Linked DNA regions of Homo sapiens: all the other regions are linked to region 3. The links are contacts of gene promoters, found by promoter capture Hi-C in human tissues and cell types (Jung and others, 2019). All regions are on one chromosome and are shown on one strand. Each heading gives the region's core, a stretch centred on a gene start or on the middle of the fragment in contact. The rest is flanking DNA. Distances are from core to core; before and after follow the strand shown. Region 1 has its middle 43 kb from the start of RBBP6. Region 2 overlaps HS3ST4 (heparan sulfate-glucosamine 3-sulfotransferase 4). Region 3 holds the start of AQP8 (aquaporin 8).

Region 1 (4,471 bases), core at 1,626-4,125, 630 kb before region 3:
CATGGAGCAAATGAAGTTAATTTCCTTTGAAGTCACTTTGAATATGATGAAAATTGCACAAAGGAAACCTGAAGCGTAGGCTACCATGTTGACGGGGATGGAAGAAGATTCTGTCCAGAGACAGATTTGTTATAGCTGGTCTTGTTGCCAGGAAGGAGGCCGGATCACGCAGCCCTCATTCCCCTGGCTATTATGGGGGCTGAAGGGGGAAAATATGCAATTTTCAAAACATTATGGCACTGGTGCCAGAAGAGGCAGACAAGTCAGTGGAATTGAATACAACACCATAAATTGGCCCAAATATAATACACAACAGTTTGAGCATAAGTAAATGTGAAAAAGGATAGGTTTTTCAATAAGCTTTGAGTGAACTGGTTAACCACTTGGAGAAAAAAAAATCACATCTTAAAATTCTAGACTAAATATTGTTTATCCAAAATTTTATATATTTAGGATTTAAAATATTCTTTTGTATAAATTTTGGTACCAAAATAAAATGTTGATAATTGTGTGTTTTGACCTATCATATTACATTCCTGGATTATATTCTTCCCATCTTCTAGGATGACCATTTTTTGATAGGTTAAGAGTTTATTATTTCAACTGGCCAGTCAACTGGAAGCCCAGGAGCTTCCCCGATATTTTTGATAATGGTTATATGAGATCTGGTTTATCCTGATTTGCTCCTTTTTAATTTTCTGATGTCTCTTGTGCTGATTTTTCTCTTCAGAGCTTCTCATTATGGTACAGTCTCAATCTTTATACATTTTGTGACATTTCTGCCTATTTTCTGAGAACACATCACATCCTCTCATCTTCCTGTGCACACCATCGTCCCTTCTTTTCTGTTCTACTTCATAGTTTCTTCATCTCTGAAACTGAAATTAGCCATTATTTTTCTGAACCAAGGATGAATTATGCCATTAGAGGGCAGAAGAAGCTGCTTGTTCTTTAAACTAGCAACTGTTTCCCCCTCTGCAATTTTTTAAAATTACAATCTCAATTATTACACAAATAAACATCTGAAAATTTTAAATGCCACTAGCAGCCGGGTGCGGTGGCTCATGCCTGTAATCCTAGCACTTTGAGAGGCTGAGGCGGGTGGATCACTTGAGGCCAGGAGTTCAAGACGAGCCTGGCCAACATGGTGAAACCCCATCTCTACTAAAAATACAAAAAAAAAAAAAAAAAAAAAATTAGATGGGCATGGTGGTGCACACCTGTAATCTCAGCTACTAGGGAGGCTGAGAATCACTCCAACCCCGGAGCTGGAGATTGCGGTGAGCCACTGCACTCCAGCTTGGGTGACATAGTGCGACCCTGTCAAAAAAAAAAAAAAAGCCACTAACAATAAAACAGAAATGCCAACAAAACAAAATTCTGGTGCCTTCAGGCATTTAGAGTTACCTTTAAGTCCAAAACCAGTGTGATTCTCCATCTTCCCCCTCCCCCCACCGATATTGACTTTTCTACCAGGATATGTCTGTGGTAGTTAGCATTTTCATTAAATTTGCCCAGATCATAATACATTCTCAATTTTGCAGGCTTTAAGAATTTAATTTTTCTCACAAAGTTGTACATTGTTTAAAAAGTCATAAAGTTCTTCAGGACTTACAACAGGCCGGGTGTGATGGCTCACGCCTGTAATCCCAGCACTCTGGAAGTCGCGGTGGGCAGATCATCTGAGGTCAGAAGTTCAAGACCAGCCTGGCCATGGTGAAACCCCGTCTCTACTAAAAATACAAAAAATTAGCCGAGCATGGTGGTGCACGCCTGTAATCCCAGCTACTCAGGAGGCTGAGGCAGGAGAATCACTTGAACCCGGGAGGCGGAGGTTGCAGTGAGCCAAGATCACACCATTGCACTCCAGCCTGAGCAACAAGAGCGAAACTCCATCTCAAAAAAAAAAAAAAAAAAAAAGACTTACAACAAAAACTTCATTCTCCTACTCTAATTAATTATATGCTGACTAATTCTTTACAGGCCATTTCAACTCTGCTAGTTCTTTCTTTAAAAAAGAAAAGAAGAATGTTATATGTAAATAACACACTCCTCCTATTACTTGATTTTTCAGTCTCAAGTATGAGCCACAATTGACTTTAGCAACACCCACACACATACACCTCTACCCTCTCCCACCCTCTCAATAAAAGTTTTACCATTTGGATTAAATAAAAATGGTGGTATACATTATTATATATCTATATAAACAGTTCCACATTGAGTCACTTGGTATAGTAGGATTGCTTTCATGTAAAATGTTGTTTTTCCTGGAATTAATATCAACTCCCGTTTCAAAAGTTTGATTTTCTATGGCTCACTGGAAACAAACCTCCTCCCAGGATATTCAAATAAGTGTTCATCAGTTTTACCCTTTTTCTTGGGATATTCCCCTCCAGAACCTTCTTTCTACCTATCTAATAAAAATTGGGGCCAGGCCCAGTGGCTCATGCCTATAATCCCAGCACTTTGGGAGGCCGAGGTGGGAGGATCAATTGAGGTCAGGAGTTTGAGACCAGCCTGGCCAGCATGGTGGAACCCTGTCTCTACCAATAATACAAAAATTAGCCAGACGTGGTGGCACGCACCTTGTAATCCCAGCTACTCAGGAGGCTGAGGCTGGAGAATTGCTTGAACCTGCGAGGTGGAGGTTGCAGTGAGCAGAGATCACACCACTGCACTCCAGCCTGGGTGACAAGAATGAGAGAATCCATCTCGAAAAAAAAAAAAATGGCTGGGCACAGTGGCTCATGCCTATAACCCCAGCACTTTGAGAGGCCAACATGGGCCGATCAGTTGAGGTCAGATTGAGACTATCCTGGCCAACATGGTAAAAGCCTGTCTTTACTAAAAATACAAAAATTCGCTGGGGGTGGTGGCGCACGCCTGTAGTCCCAGCTACTTGGGAGGCTGAGGCAGGAGAATCGCTTGAACCCGGGAGGCAGGTGTTGCGGTGAGCCGAGATCGTGCCACTGCACTCCAGCCTGGCAACAGAGTGAGACTTTGTCTCGGCAACAACAACAAAGATTGGTTGCCCTCTAGACGTACCCCAAAACTGCCTGCTCCTGGGTCTTCCCCTCGCCCTCTCTTCTGCATTAGATCTTTGCCTTCCATCCTGTGTCTTTCTCTTCCTAGGTTTGCTTCCTCATTTGAGGTGGAGGACATGTGCTCTAGTAAGTTACTGCGGAAGGGTACCTGGGAGGTAAAATTTTTCAGAGCCTAAAATGTCACAAATGTTCTTACTCTACCCCGACACTTGATTTATGGTTTGGTTGGGCATAGAATTCTGCACTGGAAATCATTTGCATTCATACCTGGAGGCATTTCTCTATCATAATCCTGCTTCTGGCATTGCTAACCAGGCGTTCAAGCCATTCTGACTCCTAATCCATTTATATGCAATTTTTGCAATATTTTCCCCTCCCAGGATTCTTTGGTAACTTCCTTTTAACCTAGGTACATTTAGAAAATCCAATGTTGTGATGATGACGTTGCGACCCTTTTAAAATATACTTTGCCAAGTGCTCTATGAGCCCTTTCTTTCATGTCTTTCATGAAATTATGTCTTTTATGATTTTCTTGGAAACATTATTTTATTACTTGTGGGATAATACTCTCCATTCCATTTTTTTCTGCTTTCTTTTTTTGGGACTCATTATTTTGATATTAGATTTTCTGGACTGATCCTCTACTATTTTCCATTCTTGTGTTTTGTTTTGTTTTGTTTGACCAGGTTGGAGTGCAGTCATAGCTCACTGCAGCCTTGACCTCCTGGGCTCAAGCGACCTTCCCGCCTCAGCCTCCTGAATAACTGGGACCACAGGCACACGCACCACACCTGGCTAATTTTTTATTTTTTGTAGAAGTAGGGTCTCTCCATGTTGCCCAGGCTGGTCTCAAACTCGTGGGCTCAAGTGATCCACCTGCTTCAGCCTTCCAAAGTGCTGGGATTACAGGCGTGAACCAGTGCGCCCACCCTCCACTCATATTTTTTGTTGTGACGTTTCCTCAACACTTCAGTTCTTTACTTCTGCTGGCATATTTACAATTTCTTTTTTTCTTTTTCTTTTCTTTCTTTCTTTTCTTTCTTTCTTTTTTTTTTTTTTTTGAGATGGAATTTTACTCTGTCTCCAAGGCTGGAGTGCAATGGTACAATCTTGGTTCACTGCAACCTCTGCCTCCTGGGTTCAAGCGATTCTCCTGCCTCAGACTCCCGAGTAGCTGGGATTACAGGCGCCTGCCACTGCACCAAGCTAATTTTTGTATTTTTTAGTAAAGGCAGGGTTTCACCATGTTGGCCAGGCTGGTCTCGAGCTCCTGACCTCAGGTGATCCACTCGCCTCAGCCTCCCAAAATGCTGGGATTACAGGTGTAAGCCACCACGTCTGGCCCATATTTACAATTTCTCAGGGTTCTATTTTTTTATTTCCTGATTGTTCCCCTTTTCATAACATTCTATTCTTTTTCATGG
Region 2 (4,467 bases), core at 1,245-3,744, 560 kb after region 3:
TGCTGGGCTCAGTGCCTTACATGATCATCTCATTTCATTTTCACAACCACCTTAGGAATTTGGTTCTATTATCACCTCTAGCTTATAGATCGAAAGACTAACACACAAGAGGGCAGGCAACCTCTCTCAGGCCACACATTGAGGAAGGGATGGTGCCTGAACTTGAGCTCAGCTCACTCTTTTAAGCCTAACACGCTCTACAATGGCTGAGGGGTGCAGTTGGGACATTTTGCAGACCAGGTGTGTGGAGTGGAACAGGGCCTGCCAGTCCTGTGAGTGAGCTACCTGGGGTAACTTTGCATCTGGAGCTGTACGGCCTGAATGGCTGCCCTGCTTTTTGTACATATATTGATGCATTTCGTTTGGGCTGCTTGCTTCCTGATACATTTCTCTCAACCAGTTAAAGCTTCGATGGAAGCTGAATGTTGCAACTGATGAAAAGCAATTAGTTTGGATGACATTTCTGATTGGCTTCCATATCATACTATTAATCATAACGGTGAATGTCTATTCAGTGCTTATGACGTGTTGGGAACTGCGCTAAGTGTTTTATACACATTGTCACTTTGGGTCCTCAGGATGATCCTGGGACGTGGCTACAGAAGTCACTTATTATGGTCCAACAGCCAGGATTTTTTTTTTTAAGTTCTGAGATACATGTGCAGAACATGCAGGTTTGTTACGTAGGTATACACGTGCCATGGTGGTTTGCTGCACCTATCAACCTGTCATCCAGGTTTTAAGCCCACATGCATTAGCTATTTGTCCTAATGCTCTCCCTTCCCTTGCCCCCCACACCCCAACAGGCTCCAGTATGTGATGTTCCCCTCCCTGTGTCCATGTGTTCTCATTGTTCAACTCCTACTTATGAGTGAGAACATGTGGTGTTCAGTTTTTCTGTTCCTGTGTGAGTTTCAACAGCCAGGATTTGAACCAGGACTTGGTAGAGTAGGGCCAAACCTCTGGAGCCTGTTCTTAGAAACTACCATCTGGCCACCATGTTGCAAGTTCATTTTCTGCTGTTCCCCATCCAGTGCTCTGTCTGCCCCAGCCACAGGACAGCTCCCTGTTGTGGGTTTCACATGCTAAGTGATTTCCTACCCCAGGGCCTTTGCACAGACTCTCCTCTCTGCTTGGTGTACCTTTCCTCCTCCTTTCCCCTTGGCAAACCACACTTCAAGACCTAGTTCAGATGTTACTATGGGAAGCCTTCCTTATCTTCTGTGGAAAGAACGGGTTGCTTTTTTCTCTGAAGACTTCTCATTGCTCTCCTTAGACTTTGGTGTCATAACTTGTGTGCCCCATGTAGTTGTCAATTCTTTGAAGCAGAGAATATAAGGGAACTATCTCACTAGCACTTGCAGTTTATGTTTATTGCAGTCTCCTCAATACCTAGTCCAATGACTGGAACAGAGTAGGTGCTCAAGGGCTTAATAAATATTTGTTGAGTGAATGAGTCTGTGTTCCTAGTGCCTTGGCTGGAGGAGAATAGAACATTGAGTACATACTGTAGGAGCTCAATGCATTTTTATGGATGGCTTCTTATCTTTCTGTTCCCTCTCTTTTACCTCTTTTTATCTTCTGGTTCCAAACAGCATTTAGTGGAAGATAGGATAACGTTTCTAGTCTGGCGTTGGCAAACTTTTTCTGTAAAGGGACAGATAAGAATTTTAGGCTTCATGAGCCATATGGTCTCTGTCACACCTACTCAACTCTGCCCTTGTAGCATGAAATAAAACTTTATGTACAAAACAAGGCAGCAGGCTAGATTTGGAACACAAGCTGTAGCCCGTGGACCCTTATTGTAGAGTATTCTTGTCATGACAAGTACTGAAAGATGGTATTTGGGCTTCTCTTATCACAATCAACATTATCTTAGTTGCCTAAACCACAGTCTTAAACTGAGCCTTGAAGAAAGTCTTCTCTGTTTGTTGTCATGCATAGTGTTTCTCTGAATGCATCATTGATAGCCCATTTAGCTGACATCTTACTAGAGAATTACAGTAGAGCTATGGTTATGTTTTGGAGTCAACTATATTTGGTTAGGATTCTGTGTTTATGCTGTGTGATCCCGGGTAAGTTACAGAGCCTCTCTGATCCTCTCTTTTGTCATCCGTGATACTGGCCTTAGGTCAGCATACTTATCTCCAAGAGTTTTAATGGGTTGATCCAAGTGAAAATGTTCAGTGTGTTTCAGTGTGTTTAGGGATTGAACAAATATTAGTTACTTTATCTTCTTATGGGCTTTTATTCAGAACCTCAGCCTTTCAACTGAAACATGGAAATACACACTGTAAAAGTCAGTGGAGCTCAGAAAGGCCCCCATGTCTATAGGATTCTAGAAAGAGTCTTTGAAAAGTGAGAGACATTTAAGTCTGAGGAATTCAGCGCTTCTAACTGTCTCACCATTCTCTTAGAGAGAGAGGGTGAGAAACGTTTGACATTTCATTTTCACACCTGTAATGTTACAAGTCTAATGCAAGCCTGGGAATCAAAGGTGGCTATGACGTCGAGAGATGGAGAAACGGCCATGGCAGGGTAGGTGCTGGACAGACCAAGGTTGAAGATGCCACGTTCAGCTCTGCTAGGTAGGTACCTTTGAAACTACAAGGTATCGAAGGGATTCTTAAGAAAATTCTGGGATGGGAAGGAGTAAGTATTCAGATTCTCTATTAGGAAAAAGAAGAAATTGGATCAGACAACCATACATAGCGATACATGCCACATACCGTACTTATATACATTCCTCAAGGACTTGTGTGTGGCTTACAGCAACTAAATGTCACACAAAACTGCTGCTGTCTGGTTCCTTATCTACCCACACTTCCCCAGTTTTGTTCCCAGACAGGATCTCTGCACAGCATTCTCAAATGTCTCCGTTCAGTTCAGGCTGACTTCTGTGTTCCTCAGCTCCAGCACCTCCATATTTTTACTGCTGAACTTTGGTGGCCTTCGATATTTTATGTCCTGGGAGTGGGGTCTACCGTGGCTTGGAAGACTGAGATGCTCCTTCCTGTCCAGTCCCATTGGTTTTGGCTCCTAATACTACAGAACACTTAAAACTTGAATTTGCCTTGGTTGTGAATTTGTCTCCCTAATAGATGAAAAGCTCCTTGAAGACAGGGGTTGTACCTCATAAACCCCTTTAACTCTCATCCCTAGCATGGTGTGTGGCACTTAATAAATGTTTGATGAGTGTTGCTGAATTTGAAAATAGGAAGTTATTTATCAATTTGGAGACACTTTCAAGTAGACAAACTGAAAACATCTTGAAATGCTGGCGATGCAGGAAAACAGGTTAAAAAAATTCAGTAGCTTTAGGGATAAAAGTGGTTTTTGGTGACATGGATGAATTGTATAGAGGTGGACTCTGGGCTTTCCATGTACTTGTCACAGAATATTGTACATTGTACCCAATAGGTAATTTTTCATTCTTCACCCCCTGCCATCCTCCTCTCTTCTGAGTCTCCCGTGTCGATTATACTACTCTGTATGCCCCTGTGCAAAACAGATTTTGTGCTGACTTCAAGATAGAGTGACCTGTCCCTTTAAACCAGCCCCCCTAAACCCTTGATGAATCTGACTATCTCGGTGACCAAAGCAACATCACTAGAGACTTGTTGCAATTGGTTGTATCATTGTCATTCCAAATGTCTGTTTTCTGGCACTTTCTTGTGGGAGCTCCTAGGAAGACAGCAGTCCCTCCAGAAATACCCCAGTTTCTGAAAGTTTTGTTGCTAAGAACTAGTCCCTGCCCATGCAGGTAAATAAGTAAGAGATAGTGTGATTGGGGAACAGGATGAATGAGCTAAATGAAGTACTTTGTGGAAAGTATTTAATATTTGGTAAGCGTGAGCTATTAAATCAGGGTAAACAGCCACAGTGAGAGTGCTTTGGATGGTTTCGCAGTTTGGGATTTAGCAAACATTGACCAGCTGCCTATGTGCCAGGCACTTCCTTAGTTGGTTCAAGACCTTCTGAGATAAACATTACTATTCTTTTCATTTTATAGTTGGTAAAACCAAGGTTCAGAAGATTAAGCAACTATCCCAAGACTTACAGCTCAAGGGCTGGAGCAACTAAAATTCAAACTCAAGTCTTCTGCCTTCAAGAAGCAGTCTCTTCCCTTGCTACAGCAATGGTGGTTTAGACCAAGAACCCTAAGGCCAGACTGCCTGAGCTTTAATTCAGACTCTGTTGCTTATGAACTGTGTGACCTTGGACAAGTTACTTATTAATATGTCTATACTTCACTTTCCTTCTGCAAAAAGTGAGGATAATAATAGCTTCTACCCCAACGTGTGGATGAAATAATGCAATGTGTAGGAAGTGCCAAGTGTGCGTGGCATACTATAGGCACTGTGTAAGTATTCATTTTGATTACATTGGACCACCTCTTCTGCATGCAGTACCTACATGATCTATTAGTTGTGTAGTTTCACCTTCAGAATCTTGATGGGCCAATTG
Region 3 (4,481 bases), core at 1,211-3,710:
ACCCACCCAACCATCTATCTATCCATCCATCCATCCACCCATCCATCCATGCATCCACCCATCCATCCACTTATCCATCCATCCATCCATCCATCCATCCATCCATCCATCCATCTCTCTTAGAAAGGCAGTAGAGTGTAGTGGGTTAGCTCACAAGTATTTTTTTTCAATTGTGGCAAGATACACATAAAATAAAATATGCCATTTTAACCTTTTTTTTTTTGAGATGGAGTCTCATCCTCTCACCCAGGCTGGAGTGTAGTGGTGTGATCTCAGCTCACTACAACCTCTGCCCCCCAGGTTCAAGCGATTCTCCTGCCTCAGCTTCCCAAGTAGCTGGGATTACAGGCGTGCACCACCACACCCAGCCAATTTTTGTATTTTTAGTAGAGACAGGGTTTCACCATGTGGCCAGACTGGTGTCAAACTCCTAAAATCAAGTGATCCTCCTGCCTTGGTCTCCCAAAGTGCTGAGATTACAGGTGTGAGCCAAGCACACCCAGCATTTGGAACCATTTTTAAGTGTACATTTCAGTGACATTAAGTACTTCACATTGTTGTGCCACTGTATCATCCATCCCAAAACTTTCCTCCCAAACAGGAAATCTGTACCCGCTAAACACAAACTCTTCATTCTCCCTTCCCCTCGGGCCGTGGAAACCACCATTCTACTTCTGTCTCTATGAATTTGACTAGTCTAGGTACTTCATACAAGTGGAATCAGATACAGTATTTATCCTTTTGTGACAGCCCACAAGTTCTGTGATCATATAAGCTGTGTAATCTTGGGAAACTCAATCTTCCTGACACTCCACTTCCTCGTCTGTGAAATGGTTGTAATAATAGTACCTGCTTCACAGGGTGGCAGTGAGGTTTAAATGAGATAATAGAAGGCACTTAGCCCCAGTGCCTGGCACATAGAAAGTGCTCACTATTAGCTATTAGTTACAGCTAAGCATGTATTGTAAATTAGTGGACACTGGTATTGTGTGTCTAGCACTGTCCTGAGCACTTTACCCGTATTATCTCATTTAAACTTCCCAACGACCCTATGACATGGTGAAACCACTAACATCCACACCTAACAGATGAGAAAACAAAGGCCCAGAGAGGCCAAGTCATGTGCCCAAGGGTTACATAGCTAGTTTACAGCAGAGCTGGGATTGAACGCCAGGCAGCCTATTTCCAAAGTTCATGGGTCTTGCCGCTGCATTGCATTACCTCTTGCCAGTCTCTGCTGCCTCTGTCTGTGAAGGATCGTCATCTATACACTCAGTCCTGGCTCAGGCTGTCACGGTGACTGCAGGTGTTTGAAGCTGTGGGACTCATTGGAAAAATAATTGAAAATGGGATTGCTGTTTCTTTCTTTTCTTTTTTCTTTCTTTCTTTCTTTTTTTTTTTTTTTTTTTTAGACAGGGTCTCACTCTGAGGCTGAAGTGCAGTGGCGCGATCTTGGCTCACTGCAACCTCTGGGTCCTGGGTTCAAGTGATTCTCATGCCTCATCCTCCTGAGTAGCTGGGATTACAGGCAAACACCAACACGCCCTCTCTTTCTTTCTCCTTCCTTCCTTCTTTTCTTTCTTTTTCTTTTTTCTTTCTTTCTTTCTTTCTTTCTTTCTTTCTTTCTTTCTTTCTTTCTTTCCTTCCTTCTTTTCTTTCTTTCTTTTTCTTTCTTTTTCTTTCTTTCTTTCTTTCTTTCTTTCTTTCTTTCTTTCTTTCTTTCTTTCTTTTTCTTTCTTTCTTTCTTTCTTTCTTTCTTTCTTTCTTTCTTTCTTTCTTTCTTTCTTTTCTTTCCTTTCTTTCTTTCTCTGTCTTTCTTTCTTCTTTCTCTTTCCTTTTTTTTTTTTTTCAGAGCCTTGCTCTGTTGCCCAGGCTGGAGTGCAGTTGCACAATCTTGGCTCTGCGCAATCTTCGTCTCCCAGGTTCAAATGATTTTCCTGCCTTAGCCCCCCAAGTAGCTGGGATTACAGGCGTGCACCACCACGCCCGGCTGAGTTTTGTATTTTTAGTAGAGACGGGGTTTCACCGTGTTAGCCAGGATGGTCTCAATCTCCTGACCTCGTGATCCACCTGCCTCGGCCTCCCAAAGTGCTGGGATTACAGGCGTGAGCCACTGCACCTGGCTGTTTGCTGTTTCTTAACATGTGAGGTTCCAACCCAGTGGGGCCCACTAACATGTGCTGTTCTGCTTTGGACCGTGGGGAGCTGGGGTGCTGGACCCATCTCCCACCTTCTACAGCCTGGAGTGTGCTCCCAGATGACACAGCCAAGCTGGCGTGTTTTTCCCTCACTGGCGGAAAGTTCAGCAATCCCTGACTCCCTCACCCTGCCCTGTTGAGATTTAAAAAAATTTCCTCTTCTGGGCCTCAGAGCCGCCTCCTACCTGAGGTTTATTGCTTTCTCTGCACCAGCATTGAGCCTCTGCAGCCCTTTAAAAGGGGCAGAGCCCATAGTGTGATCAGCAGGTCCTGTCCCTAGGAGATAAGAGTATCTTGCACAGCAGGTGCAGGTTTCCCAGCAGCTCAGGCAAGAGTCCGATGTTTGTGCCATCTGATCCTGATGTCTGGAGAGGTGAGCCCTCTGTCGGCATCTTCCTCTCCAGGCTGGCAGAGCAAGGGGGGCTGTGAATTAATTCAAGGTTGGGGGTCGGGGCCTTCTATATCTGGACTTGCCTCCCACCCGTGTCCTCTGTCCCTTTTTCCCTACGGCAGATAGCCATGTGTGAGCCTGAATTTGGCAATGACAAGGCCAGGGAGCCGAGCGTGGGTGGCAGGTGGCGAGTGTCCTGGTACGAACGGTTTGTGCAGCCATGTCTGGTCGAACTGCTGGGCTCTGCTCTCTTCATCTTCATCGGGTGCCTGTCGGTCATTGAGAATGGGACGGACACTGGGCTGCTGCAGCCGGCCCTGGCCCACGGGCTGGCTTTGGGGCTCGTGATTGCCACGCTGGGGAATATCAGGTGAGACCAGCTCTGAGGATTCAGCCTGATGCTGACTTGGGGCACTGGGTGTGGAAAGCAAAGGCGTTGTCAAGGACCCCTGGGCGCATACGTATTCGGGATTTCAAGGAGCGCTCTGGATAACTATGGGGTTGGGAGTCAGACTGGGGTCAACTCCAGACCCCGCAGCCTGTGAGCTTGTGACTTTGAGCAAGTCATTCTCTTTTTGAGTAGCTGGATCACAGGCATGCGCCGCAGCACCCAACTAATTTTTAAATTTTGTTGTAGAGATGGGGTCTCACTATGTTGCCCAGGCTAGTCTTGAACTCCTGGTCTCAAGCGATCCTCCTGCCTTGGCTTCCCAAAGTTTTGGGATTACAGGCATGAGACACCATGCCTGGCTGGCAAGTTACTCTCTAAACCCAAAGTTCCCCGCCTATAAAATGGGAATAGTAGCTTTTAAATGTTTTTTTTTTCAAGCCAACATATCTATATTGCTAACCATGTACCAGGCACTAGTCTAATTACTTTATAGATATTAGTTATTTAATCCTCACAAAAGCCTTGTGGGGTAGGTCCTGTTATTAGCCCCATTGTACAGCTGCAAAAGTGAAAGGCCATGTAATCTGTCCAAGCTTAGAGGGCCAGAAAGTGGCAGAGGCGGGAGTCAAGAACAAGCTGTCTGGCTCCAGCGCTCAAATCCAAGTGCCTCATGCGGAAGTCATGAGAATTAAATGAAGTAGAGCGCCTGGCACACACCAAACATACAACAGGCATTGGTTGCTGTGTTATTGTTACCACTAGAAGGGGGTTTTAGGGAAAGCAGAAATGCATAGAAGACCTGAGCCAGGTTTTCCCACCTGGGTATGCAGAGATCTGCAGTGGTCCTGGCTTGTCAAGAGGTGATCAAGAAGGAGGGGCAGGGAAAGGGACAGGCTTCTCTGGCTTAGCTCTCGTCTGGGTAGAGGCTCAATGGGGAGGTCTGTGGACATGGCTGCTGGTTCCCAGGAGAGCCAGCCATCACGACGAAGATCTTGAGTGGGGTGCCTGGCAGGGTGATCTGGGACATGGTTGGTCTGTATTAAATCTCACTCAAAAAATAGATCTGAATGAGGAAACAGAAATACTATTTCTGAGAAAACCAGAATGGAAAAGAGCTTTAACATCTCTTTAGGCCGGGTGCAGTGGCTCACGCCTGTAATCCCAGCACTTTGGGAGGCTGAGGCGGGTGGATCACCTGAGGTCAGGAGTTGGAGAGCAGCCTGGCCAACAGGGTGAAACCCTGTCTCTACTAAAGATACAAAAATTAGCTGGGCGTGGGGGCAGGCACCTGTGGTCCCAGCTACTTCGGAGGCTGAGGCAGGAGAATTGCTTGAACTGGGAGGGAGAGGTTGCAGTGAGCCGAGATTGTGCCACTGCACTCCAGCCTGGGCAACAGAGTGAGACTCCATCTCCAAAAAACAAACAAACAAACAAACAAACAAAAAACAAACCACATCTCTTTAGACGTCCAAGGGAGGCTGCAAGTGAAACAAAAAGTACA

Evidence for each region. The method cuts DNA at HindIII sites, captures the fragments that hold promoters and counts their contacts. A contact is called where the count stands out against the background at its distance.
Region 1: a fragment that was not itself captured here is called in contact with the fragment with the promoter of AQP8 in region 3 in 1 of the 25 tissues and cell types used here (lymphoblastoid cells).
Region 2: a contact is called between a fragment that was not itself captured here and the fragment with the promoter of AQP8 in region 3, in 1 of the 25 tissues and cell types used here (dorsolateral prefrontal cortex).

Annotation. Positions count from the first base shown.
Region 1 is chr16:24,579,927-24,584,397 of GRCh38, forward strand. No RefSeq gene overlaps it. Among named protein-coding and RNA genes, the nearest start is that of RBBP6, 43 kb to the left of the region's middle. The HindIII fragment of the contact is 5,451 bases long and covers 151-4,471 here.
Region 2 is chr16:25,770,353-25,774,819 of GRCh38, forward strand. All of the region lies in intron 1 of HS3ST4 (heparan sulfate-glucosamine 3-sulfotransferase 4), which reads left to right. Among named protein-coding and RNA genes, the nearest start is that of HS3ST4, 81 kb to the left of the region's middle. The HindIII fragment of the contact is 6,913 bases long and covers 1-4,467 here.
Region 3 is chr16:25,214,487-25,218,967 of GRCh38, forward strand. AQP8 (aquaporin 8) reads left to right here and starts at 2,461. Exons shown (of 6, transcript NM_001169.3): 1 at 2,461-2,571; 2 at 2,712-2,959. The coding sequence starts at 2,560. The HindIII fragment of the contact is 27,087 bases long and covers 1-4,481 here.